Regions from separate parts of the Homo sapiens genome. Here regions 1, 3 and 4 are each linked to region 2. The links are contacts of gene promoters, found by promoter capture Hi-C in blood cells and fetal thymus (Javierre and others, 2016). All regions are on one chromosome and are shown on one strand. The core of a region is centred on a gene start or on the middle of the fragment in contact, and the rest is flanking DNA. Distances in the headings are between cores, read along the strand shown.

Region 1 (4,975 bases), core at 721-3,220, 120 kb before region 2:
CTTAGGTACCTTATGCTCTCAAGGTAGAAAATACAGTTCCGGGCAAACTGCATTTCTTTTGCTGGCACACATGGAGCTGTGGGGCCCACCTAGCAGCAAAGCATAAACCCAACAGGGTTGAGGCATCACCACTCATCTTTAAGGCTCCTTTAAGCGGTCTCGTCACCCTGGAAAGCAGTGGTGTCGCGGCTGCTGCTAGGGGCCCATGCACAGTGACCACTGGACCAGGCCGAGCCAAGTGGGGCCTCTAGTATTTGGGACGGGGCAAATGTGGAAGTGATGGTGGTGGTGCATCTGCCACTGGGCACAGCACCTACCATGCTGTGGTGAGTTGCTAGTTACCTGGGCATTTGCCTCTCCTAGTGAATTGCAAGTGCCTTCAGAATAAGGGCCATGTCTTAACTGTGGCCTCCGCAAGTGCTCAAGGAAACAAGTGTGAGTTGAATCACATTCCACATAGTTCCCTGCACAGTCCTTTCCTCTTTCTTCCTTACCTGGCACCTGCTTCCTTGTATCTTGGGCACACATGTCTGTTCCCCCACAAGCACTTCATTCCAAGGCCCAGGGTCTTATTCATCTCTGAACACCCCCAGCCACAGACAGAGTGCACTTAGTATCCCCTCAGCAGACCTAAACACAGAGAAATGGGTTCTATGGACATCTATTGGGAACTGGCGATGACATAATTCAAATGTGACAATGGGGGAGAAATCTTTCCGAAAAATGCCAAATATCAGGCCATGGCAAAATGTCAAGATATGAGTTAGGTTATTGTTTGGTAATGCCGAAGTCCACTTCCAGATTACCCATCGTAAGTCCCCTGGTGGACCTGACTCTAAGCCTTTACAATGAGCAACAAAAGCTAGTTTGTCAGGCATCAACTAAGCACACTCGAAGCAGGCTACATGTAATGTTAAAGCAGTGCATTTGTGAATATAATTCTGCTCACAAACGTGGTGTAAAACCACTCCCAAATGCTGTGGCCTCTTTGTTTAACCTCCTGTAAAATGCTGGCTACAAACAGCAGAGGGGCACAGGGACTCAGCAGCTTAGCATGGCATGCCCACCCTTTCCACCACCCACAGCATGAGCACATGAAGAGGACCGTCCTGCAAGACAGCTCACCAAAAAGGAAAGGTGAAATGAATTGCACGTGTCAGTGCAATGCTGCTGGCCCAGACGGCAGAAGCAAATGCATCTTATTTGGGTTTGGGGAATGAAATCCAGCACCCTCTCCTACCCCTGTTCATAAGATGCTGGCAGGGTGGCCAGCGTCTTCACGTGGATGCTCTGACAACAGCCAGTGCCCCACTGGACTTCCTGCCACTTTATCTCTCAACGGCAGGGCTTCCTCCCCTCTCTCCACACCCTGCTCAGCTACACTCTCTTCTGGCTTCCTCTCTCTGAGGGCTGTGACCCTCTGCCTTCAGCTGTCCCTCACTTTCTGTTCCTGCAGCTGAGTCCTTCGGGCTGCTGACATCCTTTCTCTCCACCGTGACCAGTGACCACCTAGCACAGATACAAAACAAGGAAGCCACCTGTGTTTGAAACCATGGGTCACAGAGTGAGGAAGACCCCATAAGAAGCCAAGTAGGTAGGAAAAGATTTCATCCTTGTGGCTAAATGGATCTAAAAGTACTTCCTACACAGAAAAGGTAGGGAAAAAAACTGCATTTCACATTCTAGGAAATCATGTGTCTACTATGGGCCAGACCCTGGACTTGGAGATTTCTTTCTTTGTTTTTTTTTTGAGAGAGTCTCACTCTGTCGCCAGGCTGGAGTGCAGTATATCAGTATGGACTCACAGATATTTTTTTCTTTGGATTTTTATTATTATTATTATTATTTGAGACAGAGTCTCACTCTGTCATCCAGGCTGGAGTGCAGCATGCGATCTCGGCTACCTGTAACCTCTGCCTCCTGGTTTCAAGCTATTCTCCTGCCTCAGCCTCCCGAGTAGCTGGGATTACAGTTGTGCACCACCATGCCTGACTAATTTTTATATTTTTAGTAGAGACGGGGTTTCTCCATGCTGGCCAGGCTGGTCTGGAACTCCTGACCTCAGGTGATCCGCCCGCCTCGGCCTCCCAAAGTGCTGGGATTACAGGCGTGAGCCACCGCACCTAGCCAGACTTGGGGATTTCAACCAGTGAAGGAGCTGCTGCCATCTCCTGTCTAAAACCCAAGTTCCAGAAAGGTCCTGTCACTTACTGAAGTCTGCACAGTGGGTAGGTTTGAAAGAGGGAATCTGAGCCCCAGTTCCAACTCAAAGGTCTCATTATGACTATCTGGTTGGCAGCTGTGGCTATTCCTGCCACACATGCCCCCCAACCCCCCCCATCATGAGGGGAGCTCCTTCCTCACCCCATAACATATCACCTCATCAGGGATTCAGACCCCAGACCAGCCCTGCCCCCAGTCTCCTACTACCCACCCTGGCCCACCTCCCATTCTACCTTGTCCCTTGCACACACGACCATCTTTCTGACTGGGACCTCAATCACAAGGCCTCTCCCTGGGGGGCAACCCGCAGCTCCTCCTGCCCTTCTGTGAGGGGCCCTGCAGGTGCGTGCCTTCTGATTGCCCTTCAGGAAACCAATCGTTCCCCCCACAAACACTTCCCTCTCACTCATTTGGAGCCAGCCCCTCTCCAGACGCTGGCTATGGGATAGGGAGCAGGGTGACTGCACTGTGGCCATGCCCTTGTAGAAACCAGACCCTGCCACCACTGGTGGTGAGCTGCCCAATCTCACCTGTACATTCACTAAGTGGTCTGGGCTGAGGAGAGGCTCAGGCTCAACAAGAAGAAAAAGAGTAGGCTCTTAGCCTCCCTTGGCTTTGCCAGGGCCCCCCATGCCACAGGATTTTAAAGAAATGCCCAACAGAGGAAAGAAAAAATATCATCACATGTTACTGTAACAACCAAGCTCAAAAACCAGAAGGGAAGTGAGAGGAATAAGGGATACACTTTTAGGAGAAGAGAGGAAGGGATGGGCATTTTTCCTCTGCAATTAGACTTACTGCCCCTTTAGCCCATTCTCCAAATTGTAGCCCAAGCAATCTTCTTATAAAACAGCTTTAATGAGATATAAGTAGCATATAATAAGCTGTACCTATTTAAAGAGTGCAATTTGGTATTATGATGGGAAAAGTTCCCTTGTCCCTCTCACAGGGTGTGCAATGGGAGTGTGGCTCGCTTCTTCAGTGCCCCCCTGCTCAAACCTCTAGGGGAGCATACAGGCTCTCCTCCGACTGCCCCAGCCAAACTCTGCCTCGTTCTGCCGGCTGATGGCCTGCCAGTGTGGTGGCGTCTGTCGGTGTGCTCCTGGCATCCTCTCGCCATCCAGCTGCTTGTATCTTCTTCCGCTGATGTGTTCCTCTCGCCGTCCAGCAGCTTCTGTCTCTGCCTTGCTAGGGTCTCAGGTTTTTATAGGCCCAGGATGGGAGCAAGGCAGGCTGGGGTGGTTTTGGAAAATGCAATATTTGGGTGCAAAGGCAGAAGTGCCTGTCCTCACCTAGGTCCCTGGTATAGAGCCCTAGCCAGGGACCATGCCCTCCTCTACCCAGCACTTCTCTTCCCTGCTTCTGTATCAGTATGTTGTGACATTTCTTTTCTTTTCTTTTTTTTTTTTTTTTTTGAGACAAGAGTCTTCTTTGTCACCCAGGCTGGAGTGCAGTGGCGTGATCTCAGCTCACTACAACCTCTGCCTCCTGGGTTCAAGCGATTCTCCTGCCTCAGTCTCCTGAGTAGCTGGGATTACAGGCACGTGCCACCAGGCCTGGCTAATTTTTGTATTTTTAGTAGAGACAAGAGTTTCACCATGTTGGTCAGGCTGGTCTTGAACTCCTGACCTCATGATCTGCCCGCCTCGGCCTCCCAAAGTGCTGGGAATACAGGCGTGAACCACCGTGCCCAGCCCCGTGTTGTGACATTTCTATACACCTGTGAAATCACCACAATCAAGACAATGATCAAATCCACTGCCCCAGAGATTCCCCATGTCCTCATGCCTTTTGCAATCCCTCCCCGCTTCCTCTTCCTCTCCCCAGGCAACCACTGATCTGCTTTCTGTCATCACAGATTAGCTTGTCTTTTCTAGTTTATATAAATGGAATCTGGAGTATGTACTTTATCTGGTTTATGTACTTTATCTGGTTTCTTTCACTCAATATAAATTGAGATTCACGCATGCTGTTACATGCAGCAGGAGCTCATTCCTCTTTACTGCCATGTGGTATTCCACCATATGAATGTATTAGTTTGTTTATCCATTTGCTTGTTGATGCACATAAGTTGTTTCCAGTTTGAGGCTATTACAAATAAAGATGCCATCAAGATTTGTGTACAAGCGTTTGTAATGGACATACATTTGCACTTCTCTTGAGTAAAGGCCTAGGAGTGAAATGGCTGGGTCTTATGGTAGGTGGATGATTAACTGTTTAAGAAATTGACAAACCGCTTTCTGAAGAAGTTATATCATTTTACATTCCTACCAGCAGCTCATTAGAGTTCCAAATTCTCCACATCCTTGCCAACACTTGGCATGAATAGTCTTTTAAATGTTATCCATTCTATTGTAATAGGTTATACAGTAGCATCTCATTGTAGTTTTAATCTGCATCTCTCTAGTAACTGATGTTGTGTGTGAGCATCTTTTCACCTGCTTATTTGTCATCCTTTTCTTCTTTAGTGAGACGCCCAAATCTTTTGCCTGTTTTTTTTCTTACTGTTATGAGAACTTCTTATACATTCTAGATACAAGTTCTTTATCAGATATTGCTTCACAAAGGTTTTGCTAGAGTCCTACAAACTAGCTGCCTTGGTCCCCATAGACTCTCAGCTCCTTTTCAACTCAGGGAGTCCACCAGGTTCTGCCTCTCTTCTCCCTCCCTGTGCCAAGGCCTGGAAATTCTCTCGAGGCAATTAGCTGGGGCTGTCACTGGGCTCACCTCATTTGCTTCCTATCTCTCAAGA
Region 2 (4,724 bases), core at 1,348-3,847:
AAAGTTAGGAGAGAATGATCTGGATTCAAAGATAAAGATAGGTAGGATGATCAAAATCAGCAGCATTGGCCAGGCGCGGTGGCTCACGCTTGTAATCCTAGCGCTTTGGGAGGCCGAGGCAGGTGGATTGCCTGAGCTCAAAGTTTGAGACTGGCCTGGGCAACATGGTGAAACCCCGTCTCTACTAAAATACAAAAAGTTGGCCAGGTGTGGGGGCGCGCACCTGTAGTCCCCGCTGCTTGGGAGGCTGAGGCAGGGGTTGCTTGAGCCCAGGAAGCGGAGGTTGCAGTGGGCCGAGATCACGCCACTGCACCCCAGCCTGGGAGACAGAGCGAGACTCTGTCTCCAAAAAAAAAAAAAAAAAAAAAAATCAGCAGCATTAAGCCTCAAGAAGGGGCTGGGAATCCAAGGAATCCTATTCTTAGGTCTTGTATTTTATCAAGTGGCACAACACTGCCACCTTCCGAGAACGGACAGAATTGCAACCTGCGAAAAACTGACTAACCCCAGCTGTTCAGCCTAAGGCTGCAACTTTTGCCTCGTCTTTTATAACTTTTTTTTTTTTAAGGTAAACTGTTGAGGTATAGCACACATATTGAAAAGTGTAAGTCCTAGCGGTATAATGATGAATCTTCACAATATAAAACACACTTGTGTAACTGGCATTCAGCCCAATTAGCAGAACGTGAAATCAACCTTCCATCCGCTTCTAGGCACTGTCTCCTCACTATGGGCCCCTATAGCCTGACTGCTAACACTATTATTTCATCTGCCTGTTTCTAACCCGCTTGTAGCCATTTCTTAGTGAGAGCTCTCAGGGGATGTCCACATGGGAGGCTTTCCCCAGAACTGGCAGGCAGGTCCTCAGCAGTGCACCCACACCAAGACCTGCTAGTTACATGAATATATCCTAATGTCTGAAAGCTTCCAACAATGAAACTTGACAGTTGAAGCTCTTCTGGACTGTCTTCTCTGAGGGTTGCAGTGCAGCAGGGGCCATCTCAGATGGATCATCTAGAGCAGGGATGGCAAAACCTAGCCAACTATCCCCAGTGCCCTTGCCTACAACCACCCAGACACCATTCATCGACAGCAGCACTCCTGGTGCTCAGAACGAGTCTCTGAATTCTTCTTCGTACCATATAATCAGAAAGCACAGAGTTATTATGTGAAATGTATCACTTATTTCTTTGGTATTTCTTGAGTGCTTGCTATGTGCCTGGCACTGAGCTAGGCACTGGGGATATAATGTTGGGCAAAGCAATCTCTGCCCTTGGGGAGCCAGCCTGTTTACGATCACTGAACCAAACCAATGCCTGACAACTCTCAGAGCTGTGAGGGAGGAAAAGAAAGAGTGCAGTCATATTTGAAGAGCTCCTCCTCCCAATCAAGTCCAAATTCCTCCGCATAGCCATCCAGGACTTCTCCCTGTCCCCTGCCACTCCCTCTGCTCTTTCAAATGTTGCCTGCATGTGCTTCCACGTCTTTACTCACGCCATTTCCCAAACTGTTATCAAAACTCTAGTCCTCCTTCCTGGCTCAACTCAAATGCCATCTCCACTGAGAAGGTATCTCCTGGTCAGAATTAGAATTAGTTGTTTTTTCCTTCCTGATGCATCCTGTGTAGTGCCTGTAATTGTATCTAGCAGCTATTACATTTTATTGTGTATTTAGGTAAGCTGCTTGCCTGTCTTTCTCCTGTGAGGAGTAGGAGGATGATTTTTTTTTGAGACAGGGTCTTGTTCTGTCACCCAGGCTGGGGTGCAGTGGCACAATCACAGCTCACTGCAGCCTCAGTCTCCTGGGCTCAAGTGATATTCCCACCTTACCCCTGCAAGCAGCTGGGACCACAGGCGCGCACTACCACACCCAGCTAATTTTTTGTATTTTTGGTAGAGATGAAGTCTCACTATGTTGCCCAGGCTGGTCTTGAACTCCTGAGCTCAAGCAATCCTCCTGCCTCGGCCTCCCAAAATGCTGGGATTACAGGCATGAGCCACTGCTCCTGGCCTTGAAAATCCTTAAAGGCCACTCTCAGTCTCCAGTTCCTAACAGATGCTCAGTAATGTTAATTGCCTTGAACTCAATCAAGCTTGTTTCAGTGGATGAATAAACCTACCAGCAGCAGGGGTGGGGGATAATGTGAGTAGGACAAAGTGGAGGCAAGAGAGGAGGGAAGAAAGAAATGAGTGAAGTGGGGCACTGGATGCTATACTTTCCAGCTAGTGCCACCATCTTTTTGCAGGGAGGGGTGCATTGAAAGATCCCAAGCAGCTGAAGCAAGAGAATGAGAGCAGGGGAATGCCCCGATGAGTGCTCACATGGAATTTCCCAGTGGGGAAAGGGGCGCTTCCCAGCTCCTAGAATCCTGCTCATTCCCAAGTGTTTTCCCTCCACTTTTCCAGGGAGCCAGGGAATGGGCTATAGGGAGTTGGGAATCTGGTTTTCACTCTTGGCTGAAGCTGGCCATGTCTACTCTCATGCGTAGTTTAGCTCTGAATGAGTCACACTTGTTTATTCATTCAACATGTATTTACATGATAATTGGGTACACAGCACTAGGCAATTAATTGGAGAGCTTACAATAAGAACAGGCAGCCCAGGACATGCTCATAAATAACCATCAGCACTACAAGAAAGACGTACCAAATGTGATTTGGAGGCGCAAGGTGCACAGGAATGAAGGACAAAGGACATCAAGGGCCCTGCTGGACTTGGAACCCAGGCCTGCTGGAGCAGAGATCACATCACATTGCCAAGTTCATTATTCAGATTCACAATTGGGGTAATGTGTTTCCCTTTTGTTCACTCATTCATTCACTCAACAGATGGTACTTGGGAACAGACTTGCGTATGCAACTGAGTTATTCATTCATCATAGTGACTGTGCACAGCAGGGGCCTTTATAAGTGAGTGGAAAATCTGCAACTCTAAACCACTAACAAACCGTTCTGACTCAGGGACCATCAAACGCGGGAGTATTAGGCAGGGCCTCTGCCTTGAAGAAGGCCCTGGATTTCTGAGTCAGCTTTCTTCCTACTCCTTCGGTACATCCCTGGAGGTAGATCATGCTTGCTTGCACTGAAGCACAGCTATATGTAAGCACAGTGATGAAAACTGGGGGGAGATCTTCACAATTTCTTCATTAGTTTAGACTGCACTAACTCAGAAATTGCAACAACTGATAGCTGCTGGGCATTGAAGGCCACATTTGTCCCACTTGGAAGAAGGAAAGAAGGAAGGGAGGGAGGCAGGGAAAGAGGGGAGGAAAGGTAGGGAGGGAGGAGAGGGAGGAAGGGAGGGAAGGAAGGGAGTTGCTAATTATTAGGATAAACAAGGAAATTCAGAACATTGATTGATTGGCCATGTTAAGTGCTCTTAAAAAAATCACTATATACAAGGAATGTGCTAATTACAGTATGAGCAAAGAATATCAGGATGTATCAGAGCCCCACCTTCTTGCTGCAGATGACATTTACCTATTCATGAAGCCCCAGAGAGCCTGCTGCCCACTCCCCTGACCTGGTGCGAGAGTGGCCTGCCAGGCTGCAGATCTTTGAAGGCCATAGATCTCTGAAAATGGTCTCCAAATTGGACTTTTCATTAAATCAGACTAAGTTTACCTTCCTCTTCTTCCTTGTTCTGTGCCCAGGGCCATCATGTCACATAATTAGCCTAGTTTCTAAGTATTAGCCATGGCTCATTCTTGAAATATCACCATTCCCATTTCCTAGCAGCCAGTTAGTGGCGCAGAAGGAGGGTTTACTAATACAGCAGGACCCAAGTAAAGCTTCTCTTCCCTTCCTGTTCCTTTTCCCAGTAGCCCCGTTTCTGGCATGATCAGAGTAACAGAGAAGAAAGCTCTGTGGATAGGGGCTTGCTGTGCTCTCCACGGTCAGCAGGCGGCCTGCCCTTCTCATGGGAGCTCCCTGAGCAGCTGCTTGCTTCTGACAGCCACCACTTTCTGTTGATTCCAAACTGAAGGGAGAAATTCAGTTTGGGGAATTTAGTGTCTAAGTTGCATTACAGAGCTACAACAAAAAGTGACAAGATTCCATGTTTACAGCGGTCTCCCACAAAGGGAGAGAAAAGGCTTCCTGATCTCATTCAGTGAAGATGGGCCATGACATGTTCCCACGCTCTAATGTGCCCCCTCTCTTTCAACCTGGTGCTAACCACCGGAAGGAGGGAAGCTGAAAGCTGATCCTACCCCACACCCACAACCACAGCAGGAGGCTCAGCATATTTTCCTTCTTTGGAATATATACCATACTGTAAATGATAAAGTTACACAATCATTGTAAAAAATCTGGAAAAAATCAGAAGTATATTGGGCTCACCACCCAGAGATAGCTAGTGTTAACATGTTGGCATGAGTTTTTCAAGTCTTTTCTCTTGCTTTGAGTATGTGTATATATGTGCTTGTATATATAAAGACAAAGATAACCAAGCTGTATCTTGCTTTTTCTATTTCTCATTACTTCAGATGAATTTCTCCATGTTATTAAACATTCTTTGTAATTTAATTGAAAGTGTTGTATAAGTGTGCTCCACGTAGATGGATTATACTTTATTTACCCTGTCTCAGCATTTTGGGGCATTTAGATTGTATCCAAATTTTTAGCTACTTGAAATAACACTTACATGAACATCTTGGTGCATAAGTTTGCATTTCTGATTATTTCCTTAGGATAGATTTTTAGCAGTGCAATTAGTGCACCCAA
Region 3 (4,911 bases), core at 192-2,691, 100 kb before region 2:
CATACCTGTGTTTCCAGTTATTCGGGGGGCTGGGATGGGAGGATTGCTTGAGCCCAGGAAGCCAAGGCTACAGTGAGCTAAGATGGTGCCACTGAACTCTAACCTGGGTACAGAGTGAGAATTTGTCTTTAAAGAGAGAGAGAGAGAGAGAGAGAGAGAGAGCGCGCACCTGCAAACCATGACAGAGCTGGGCAGAAGCCATGCTAGCTTCCTCAACACCACCTCCTTTCTTTCTCCCTGCCTTCCTCACCGCCTCCCACCAACTTCACTTCCTCTGCTCTCTGGCTACAAATTTGGGCAGAGATGCCTCTCCCCACACCTCACACACCCACCGTCAGGCATGGGCAACCCAGAGAGGTGGCAGCTGTGTGCTATGGGTAGAGGAGGGGCTGCCAGCTCCAGTCCATTCATGGCTTCTAACTGACCTCTGTGGCTGGCCAACAAAGAGCCTCTGTGTAAGTCCCTGCCACCTGCAAGCAAAGCCTCAGTGATGTCAGGACAAGCCTCAGACAAACAGGCCTTTGCAAGCTGCCTGGAAAGCCACCTCCCAGCCTGCCCCTGCATTGGCCACAGGCTTATTGGGAGGCCCATACCCAGGAAAGGGCTCCATAGCCTACACAGAGGGATAGGACATAGGCATCCCAGTAGCCTGTGGCCCCTGATGAGCCAAATCCCAAACAGCCTTCCTCCCACCTCTTGGGACAGGAAACACCATCGTTCACTTCTCTACCTCCCTCAAGGGGATGGGCCATCTCTTTGGGCTTTCTGCCTGTACTTGCTAAACTGAGTGTATTTTTTAAGGCGCTGGAAAGTTGGCTCAGCTGCAATGACCACCTGCTCCATCAAGCCCTGTGCACACAGCAGCTTCGGACCCCAGAGCCCCCCTGCTTCAAGTGGGAACGGATTCGTTCTAAGGCTGCGTGGGAGCAGCCTGCCATCCCTTGCATCAGGCATTTGGCCTCAGTGGGCTCACTTGGTGGTTGGCAATCATGAAATCAGCCTCCCTTGAACAAATGATGATCTTTTTGTTTAAGCATTTGTGGTTCTGAACAAATCGATTGGGCTTGGCTTTCAGATGGGACAAGGTAAAGACGCTTCCATGCTTTTGAGAAAATGACAAAGCAAGAGAATGTATACAGCAAACGACCATGTGTTACAGCCTGTTCTAAGTGCTTTGTAAGGCACAGCCCTGCCCAGCAGAAAAATATGCAAGCCACGTGCGATTTTACATTTTCAAGTATCCATACTTAGGAAGTAAAAATAGGTGAAACTAATTTTAATGTTTTACTTAGGCCAATATATCCAAAAGTCTCATTTCAACATAGAATCAATATGAAAAATATTAATAAGCCACTCTTTTCTCCATACCAAGTCTTCAAAATCCAGATGTGCTTCAAAAGCACATCTCAGTTCAGAAAAGCCACCTTTTGAAGTACTTCACAGTTGCACGTGGCCAGTCTCCCGTACTGGACAACTTAGATCAGATACTAGCTAATTCAGTCCTCACAACCATATGCACATTTTACTGATGGGGAAACTGAGGTACAGGGCTGCTGAACAACCCGCCCAAGGTCTCACAGCTGTTGGCAGAGCTGGGGGGTGGCAGATCCAAAGCCCACGTGCTTATTAGGCTTTTCATTCCCACCAACAGCTCCTCAAATCAAAGCCACCATGCATGCCTGCCAGCATGTCTCCCTGCTCCCTGCCAAACCTGCGCAGGCCTTTGGTGAGCTAGTCCCTGGAACTCTATAAGTTTCTATCCAGATAAAGCATGTATCCCAACCCTTTCTGGCCCCTCTAGTCCTCAGCTACCAAAGGCATCTCCTACCCACATGAGAGCGCTCATCTGAGTAACTCTGGTCAGGGTGAGGGATGTGGACAGCAGCCCAGTGCCCCTGCCTCCCTACCACGTCAGTGTAGGGTATGGATTGATGCCAGAATGTGTGTCCCAGCTAAAGGCACTGACACTCAGGAGGAAGTCAGGGAGTATCTGCTCCCCACATCTGGCCAGAGTGTACACATATTCATTCGAGAAGTCTTTTTTTTCTTGAGACAGAGCCTTGCTCTGTTGCCCAGGCTGGAATGCAGTGGCACAATCTCGGCTCACTCGCCTCCCGGGTTCAAGTGATTCTTCTGCCTCAGCCTCCCGAGTAGCTGGGATTACAGGCGCGCGCCATCATGCCTAGCTAATTTTTGTAGTTTTAGTAGAGATGGGGTTTCACCATGTTGGTCAGGCTGGTCTCGATCTCCTGACCTTGTGATCTGCCCACCTCGGCCTCCCAAAGTGCTGGGATTACAGGCATGGGCCACCGCACCCAGCCTCATTCAGTAAGTTTCCACTGGGTACCTGCTGTGTGCCAGGCAGTGCCTTGGGCCCTGGGGATACAACAGTGAACAAAACAGACAAAAACCCCACTACCAAGGAGCTCAGATACAGCAGGAGGAACTAAGCAATACCTGTTTGTGACAAAAGGAAGCCCTAGTAGTCCTAATTCAGTCTCTTGCACATAGTAGGTACTCAATAATAGCTGCTGAATGAATGAGTTATCCTGGCTTGGAACTACTTTTTCTGGATGTGGTAATGCAAAGATAGGTCTGGGGCAGGGGTAAGTGAGGGCTGTGGAACCCCGCAGGAAAGCCAGTGACCCACTTGGGGTTCATGCCCACAACTCCAGCTTCAGGAATCTGGAGCTCCACCCACCAAGGAAACCAAGGAACCATTCAGAGCCAGGCGCGGTGGCACATGCCTGTATCCCAGCTACCTGGGAGGCTGAGGCAAGAGGACTGCTTGAGCCCAAGAGCTTGAGGCTGTAGTGTACTATGATCACACCTATGAATTAAAAAGAAAAAAGAAGAGAACATCATGAAGCTCCCCCAGGTTATATGCTGACCGACTGAAATTCCCTTAACCGCAAAATGTAGTCAAGTCTCAAGTTTACCACAAGGGACAGGGATTCTCCAAGTTTACTGAATCTGGAGGTCTAGCACTTCTAACATTCAACTTCCATTCCGTGCTTGGCCCTCCTCCCACAAGCAACGTCACCCAAGTCCTCACCAGATAAGCTCTCCCTTCAAAACTCTAACAGGTAATCAAGGTCTGGTGAAAATTGGCACAGCTACTACCAGGCACAAGTTATGGAGAAAATACCTATGTAGCATCCACTGTTTCTTAGCCACTACTGCTGAGCAAACAGTAGCACTGTCACCAAAATATTTCCCTTTTTTATTCTGATTGGGTAATATTATAAATACATACCATGATTCATTCATTCAACAAATATCTCATGAGTAACTTCTACAGACCAGGTCTTTCGGTTTCTATTTTGAACCTTATCACTAATTCAGTGTTTGGTTTTATTTCTTCATTCTCCTTCTTTTTTTTTTTTTTTTTTTGATACCGAGTCTCGCTCTGTTGCCCAGGCTGGAGTGCAATGACACAATCTTGGCTCACTGCAACCTCCGCCTCCCAGGTTCAAGCAATTCTCCTGCCTCAGCCTCCCGAGTAGCTGGGACTACAGGCATGCGCCACCACACCCAGCTAATTTTTGTATTTTTAGTACAGACAGGGTTTTACTGTGTTAGCCAGGCTGGTCTCAAACTCTTGACCTCAAGTGATCCGCCCGCCTCGGCCTCCAAAAGTGTTGGGATTATAGGTGTGAGCCACGTGCCCAGCGTCATTCTCCTTACTTCTTAGAGACAGGGCCTCTCTTGCTTCTAAACAAACTTTGTCATTGTACACGTTTTTCACACCCTCCCCAACTCAGGCTTCTTCACTCCGTCAGTGGGCTTCTCTGCAAGCAAATGAGGGAAAGCTTCCAAGTTCAACCAATGTACATGCCTGCGATGCCCCCGCCCATACACACAAGGTGTCCGAAGCAAGTTCTCCCTAAACCACTGTCACCCTCAGAGCCAAGAGTCTTCTCCCAGCCAACAACCCTGAATCTAAAACTGGCTCTGAGGCTCAAAGCAAGGGAAAGGACACAGGATTATAAGCAGCACAGGACCTCCAGTCTCCATAATATGAAGAAACTGAGGACAGAAAAGTGAAGCAGAAAAGTCAAGCTTACAGCCAGAAAGCAGCACAATCAGGCCTGCAATGCAATCCTTGCTGCCCACATTTAATGTAAAGATAACTGTCAGCAAATGCCCTGGAACCTAGCCATGGCCAGCAGCTGAGCTGCCCCCAATTCCATTTCTTTCTAAATTTACTACCTCACTGCATCATCAGGAAGGAATGCAAACTGAGGTAGCAGGAGGGGAGGGAACAGGCGACATTTTGGCAGATGCAAAACCTCAGGGCCAGCCCTAACCATCACGCGAGCAAACGTGGCCATAACTTGGTTCCACCCTGCTGAAAGGAAATCCATCAACTCGGCTGACAGGGAGGTGCAGGGGAACAGGGAAGCTGCTGTTATTGTCAGAAGGGGTTTCGGGCACAAAAAGCAAATCTGCTCCTGCTTTACCACCTGAAATGGCCGTCACATGCTGGCCAGCTCGGGCCTGCTGGAATATGTGCTCACCCCCTGACTTGGAGCCTGCCTGCTAAGAGGGGTGCCTTACCCACTAGGTCCTCTAAGTACCTCAGTCACTATCCTTCCAGAACTAGCTGCAGGGAGGACCCATGCTAAATGCAAACTCCCTCCCTGGAATGACAGCATCATGGCAGGCTTCCAGAACTTTTTGTGTGCTACAAAACATGTTTGTGGGGAGGGAGGTAGAGACCCCTGAGATGCTCCCCACCAGCTTTCAGTAACCGGGAGTAACCCATCCTCACTCCCCGGGGACACAGCGACAGTCACACAACAAGAAAGATGAGGAAGGAACTTGGCCAAGTTTAAACTCATGGCTCTCAAAACTTAAAAATAACCTGGCTGTGGATCCCAAGAACTCCCTTTGAAACACTCAAGCAGA
Region 4 (4,899 bases), core at 1,765-4,264, 79 kb before region 2:
AGGAGCCACAGACACCAACCAGTGCTCTTACATTTGTCTTCTCTTTTCATCCTATCTTGGTGATGGCAGCAGTGGTCCATCTGGAGCAGCCACTGCCATGATGCTAGCTGCAATGGCGAGGTGAGGCCGTGACTGCATGCTCCATAGAGCTGGTAGGAGCTAGGAACAGGCAGGAGCCCCACTCCCTTCTGAGTTGGTGGGGCGGGAGCCCTGCCTTCCCAGGCACAGCTGCATCCACCCAGCTGTGGCTGCAGACCTGGGCATCCCTGTGCTCCCGGGGACCTAGAAAGCCCCCCTACTCCCACAGGCTCAGAAGTGCCTGCTCCTGTTGCCTGGCCTCTCCTGGTGCCCATTCTGATTTTGGAGCAAAGTTGAAGCTGAGCCCAGATACTGTCACGACCCAGCTGGGGGTGCACGCACTCAGGGCAGCACTGACACACCAGTCCCCTGCCGCCTCGGCCCCCTCCAGACTTTGGGTGCCGATGAGCATGGGAGGGAGGCCAGGGTGAGGCTGAGGGCAGTTCGGCATGTACCTGCAGGCACCCCTCAGCATGAACAGCCTGGGTGCCATGGGTGCCATGGCCAGCAGGTTGATGGCAGCAGGGGGCAATCAGGCTCCTGGGTGAAATGGGATGGGTCCCCAGTGAAGCCCCCTTCAAGACAGGGACAGCCTGAAACCTAGGGGCTGAGCTATCAGTCCTGCAGACTGGAGTGAGAATTTATGGTGCTTTTCCTGGGCCTGCCTATGGCTGCCGGTGGACCAATCAGCACACACTTCCTCCCTTCTGAAGTCCATAAAAAAAACCAGACTCAGCCAGACTCAGGCAGACAATGGGATGACCTGCCTGCAGATAGGAGCTACCCACTCTGGGTCTCTCTGCTGAAGGCTGCAGAGACATCGGGGCAACCTGCCTGTGGAAGGCAGCTACCCACTGTGGGTCTCTTCTCCACTGAGAGCTGGACACTCATCGGGACAACCTGCCTGAGGAAAGGAGATACCCACTGAGAACAGTTCTGCCACTCAGTGAGGCTCCTTTCTGCCTTGCTCACCCTCCAGTTGTCTGCATACTTCATTCTTTGTGGACACAGGACAAGAACTTGGGACCCACTGGGCAAATGGTGGCACTAAAAGATCTGTAACACAAACAGGACTGAAACACACCCCTTGCTTGCCACGTTGTGGGCAACGAGAAGGAGAGAAGAGAGAAGGAGAAAAGAGAGAAGGAGAGAAAAGCTGCAGCCCTTTGGGGAGCCCAGACCTAGGAGCACCCCAATCCAGGGTTATGATACCCTCTTTGGGGCTCTGCGGTTCCTGGTGTCTCCAAGCTTCCAGGTGCCACCGCATTCCCCAGTGCCAGCGGTGGAAGTTGCCTGTGGTACGCCTGGTCCAGCCACAGCTGTGCCCGTGCTGGCACCTGGAGCTGCCTGCACTGCCACAGCTGGCATGCCTGGCTGTGTGCAGTGGCCAGACCCCATGCTTGCTTGCTCACACAGCTCTCGCTGCTCCATGGCTGGCTTGCCCTTGGCAAGCATGGGATCCACACCAGTAGCACGAGCTGAGCACAGCCTGTCAGGCTAAGTGGGCGAAACAAAACCAGCAGGCCTGAGCAAAACTTGGGCAAAGGCACCACTAGCCACAGAGGTTTCTGTCTGGAAAAGCAACACCCCAAGTATCCTGTGACATTGGCACCTATGTGAGCCCACAATCCTTGATGCCCTCCTGCCTCCCCGTATCTTGGCTTAGCTGAAGTGCTCAGCATTCCAGAAGCTTGTAGGCATTACTCTCCACCCCCACTGCCATTCTAGAACAGTTGCACCATCTCCATCAACTAAACACAAACCTGAATCCACAATCCATGTATTTCCTGCCCCAACTGGGTTGTCCTCTCTTAGTCAATGGATCACCTTACACCGTTACAAAATAGATTATAAAGATGGCATCCCAGCCGAGCACAGTGGCTCCCTCTTGTAATCCCAGCACTTTGTGAGGCCAAGGAGGGAGGAATGCTTGAGGCCAGGAGTTTGCGACCAGCCTGGGCAACAAGCATAGTGAGATCCCATCTCTACCAAAAAATAATTTTTAAAAAATTGGCCAGGTATGGTAGCACATGACTGTAGTATCGCACCACTGTTCTCCAGCCTGGGTGAAAGAACAAGACCCTGTCTCAAAAAAAAAATTAAAAAAAAAAATAAAGATGGTATCCCATGGGCATCAAACTGAATAATATACCACTGTGAAAGGGTACTTAGAAATGGCCAGGAGACTACTGATGTTTTACTGCTGCTGTTTAATACATAAGAGGCAGAGGTCTTTCAAATTCTCTGCATAGCATTTAGAATCCCAGCTGTGGTTATTTAATACAGGCTGTTTTTGTCTGTTTCATGTGCTTGGAAACAACTTTAATATCTCAAAAAAAGGTGTTTATATTTGCATAACAGTTGTTTAAGAAGCAAAATACTGAAAAGTTAAAAAATTTTATCAGTAGGTAGGCAGAGTGTAAATGGTTTTGTTTAAGTGTTTACCAGTAATGTTTTATTTTGTTTTCTTGAATGAAAACATGTTCAATATTCTAGTTGACTAGTCTTGGTCCATTTGGGCTGTTATAACAGAATACCACAGACTAGGTGACTTATAAACAACAGAAATGTATTTCTCATGGTTTGAGAGGCTGGGAAGTCCAAGATCAAGGCAACAGCAAATTCAGGGTGTTAACCAAAAATAAAATCCTAAGGCCCCCCAACCATCTAAATGGACTTCCTCCTCAGCCAGGGCACTCTAAAATTTAACCTGAAAGTGGGGGTCAGACATGCCTCATTACACCTCTCTGGCATTAACATCAACACAGACCTTAAGTCTGATGAGAAATATTTACAATCTATTCTCTCTGGTTTTGTTGTTGTTGTTTTGTTTTGTTTTGAGATGGAGTTTTGCTCTTGTTGCTCAGGCTGGAGTACAATGGCATGGTCTCAGCTCACTGCAACCTCCGCCTCCTGGGTTCAAGTTATTCTCCTGCCTCAGTCTCCCGAGTAGCCGGGATTACGGGCACACGCCACCACGCCCAGCTAACTTTTTGTATTTTTAGTAGAGCTAGGGATTCTCCATGTTGGCTAGGCTGGTCTCAAACTCCTGACCTCAGGTGATCCACCCACCTCAGCCTCCCAAAGTACTGGGATTACAGGCATAAGCCACTGCACCCAGCCCAACAATCTATTCTCTCTGAAGCCTGCTACCTGGAGGCTTCATCTGCATGATGAAACTTTGGTCTCCACAGTCTCTTATCACAACCTAGACTTTTTTTATATTGATAACTATTTCAACTAATTGTTGGTTAGAAAAATTTTTAATCTACCTATAACCTGGAAGCCCTCACCCCCACCACCCCCCTCTTTGAGTTGTCCCACCTCTCTGGATGCAACCAATATATATCTTAAATGTATTTGATTGATGTCTCACATCTCCCTAAAATGTACAAAACCAAGCTGCGCCCCAACCACCTTGGGCACATATTCTCAGGATCTCCTGAGGGCTGTGTCACAGGCCATGGTTGCTCATATTTGGCTCAGAATAAATCTCTTCAAATATTTTACAGAGTTTGACTCCTTTTGTCAATGGGTGTTTGGTGAGGACCTGCTCTCTGGTTCATAGATGGTACCTTCTGCCTGTGTCCTCACATGGTAGAAGGGTGACCAAGCTCCCTCAGGCCTCTTTTTTAATGGCACTAATTCCATTCATAAGGGCTCTACCCTCATGACCTTCTTTTTTTTTTTTTTTTTTTCTTGAGATACAGTCTCGCTCTGTCGCCAGGCTGGAGTGCAGTGGCGTGATCTTGGCTCACTGCAACCTCCACCTCCCGGGTTCAAGCAGTTCCCCTGCCTCGGCCTCCCGAGTAGCTGGGACTATAGGCGCACACCACCACACCCGGCTAATTTTTTTGTATTTTAGTAGAGACAGGGTTTCACCATGTTGGCCAGGATGGTCTCGATCTCCTGACCTCATGATCTGCCTGCCTCAACCTCCCAAAGTGCTGGGATTACAGGTGTGAGCCACCGTGCCCGGCCCCAAAGTCCCACCTTCTAATACCATTACTTTGGGCGGTAGGATTTTAACATATGAATGTTGGGGCAGTGGGCATAAACATTCAGTCCATAGCAAGCTGTAAAGCATGGAGCCCCTGCAAAGCAGTGATCATTCCTTCCCATGGCCCTGCCTGTGCAACAGGTACCATTTTCGACACCCAGCTTTCCTTTAGGAAAGCTTTAGGCTGAGGCAGGACAATTGTTCATGATACACAGATACAAAAACTGCCTGCCACAGGGACACACTCATGGAATGTGAATTTTTTTTACTTGACCTGCCCAGAATCTCAGTAACATCAGTCAGATCATGGCTTTCCCTAGTGCAAACCCTCCAATGGCATCCTGAACCACACTTAGATCCTTTCCTTGGCTCTATGTGATCTGGTGCCTTGCCTCCTCTGCCTCCAAATTTTCCACTATCCTTTCCTCTTGCTCCATTCAGACACATGGACTTCTTTGCTGTTCCTTGCCCTTGCCCTTATCATGCATTCACTCACAGAACAAATGGTACTGAGCACCTGTAATGCCCCGGGCCCTTTCCTAGGTGCTGGGGATACAGCAGTGGACAAAACAGATGAACATCCCTGTCCTATTTGGACTTCCATTCTAGTACATTTGAGTGGGGAGGATGGACAATAAACAGAATAGGTGCATGCCTTACAGTACATATTAGAAAGGGATGGGAGCTATGGTGAAAAATGAAGCAGGAAAGAGGACATAGGGAGGGGTGCAATTTTAAACACAAGGGTCAGGGAAGGTCCCACTGAGCAAGTGACACCTGAGCAGAGACCAGAAGAAGAACAAGTGCAAGGAGAGACGGAG

What was found. Contacts are between HindIII fragments. The CHiCAGO score rates a contact against its expected background, and 5 or more counts as called.
Region 1: a contact is called between a fragment that was not itself captured here and the fragment with the promoter of LARS2-AS1 in region 2, in 1 of 17 cell types (monocytes). The highest score is 6.1, in monocytes.
Region 3: a fragment that was not itself captured here is called in contact with the fragment with the promoter of LARS2-AS1 in region 2 in 1 of 17 cell types (monocytes); the score reaches 5.2 in monocytes.
Region 4: a contact is called between a fragment that was not itself captured here and the fragment with the promoter of LARS2-AS1 in region 2, in 2 of 17 cell types (monocytes and megakaryocytes). The highest score is 5.4, in monocytes.

Annotation. Positions count from the first base shown.
Region 1 is chr3:45,628,076-45,633,050 of GRCh38, reverse strand. The region is part of intron 1 of LIMD1 (LIM domain containing 1); the gene reads right to left. Among named protein-coding and RNA genes, the nearest start is that of LIMD1, 36 kb to the right of the region's middle. RefSeq lists an enhancer at 2,583-3,084. The HindIII fragment of the contact is 9,554 bases long and covers 1-4,975 here.
Region 2 is chr3:45,507,418-45,512,141 of GRCh38, reverse strand. It overlaps LARS2-AS1 (LARS2 antisense RNA 1), which reads left to right and starts at 2,597. Exons shown (of 4, transcript NR_048543.1): 1 at 2,597-2,785. All of the region lies in intron 15 of LARS2 (leucyl-tRNA synthetase 2, mitochondrial), which reads right to left. RefSeq lists a silencer at 2,231-2,525 and an enhancer at 3,352-4,218. The HindIII fragment of the contact is 1,698 bases long and covers 2,095-3,792 here.
Region 3 is chr3:45,607,322-45,612,232 of GRCh38, reverse strand. All of the region lies in intron 1 of LIMD1 (LIM domain containing 1), which reads right to left. Among named protein-coding and RNA genes, the nearest start is that of LIMD1, 15 kb to the right of the region's middle. RefSeq lists enhancers at 442-511, 3,880-4,380. The HindIII fragment of the contact is 4,747 bases long and covers 1-3,814 here.
Region 4 is chr3:45,586,951-45,591,849 of GRCh38, reverse strand. No RefSeq gene overlaps it. Among named protein-coding and RNA genes, the nearest start is that of LIMD1, 5.4 kb to the left of the region's middle. The HindIII fragment of the contact is 2,487 bases long and covers 1,771-4,257 here.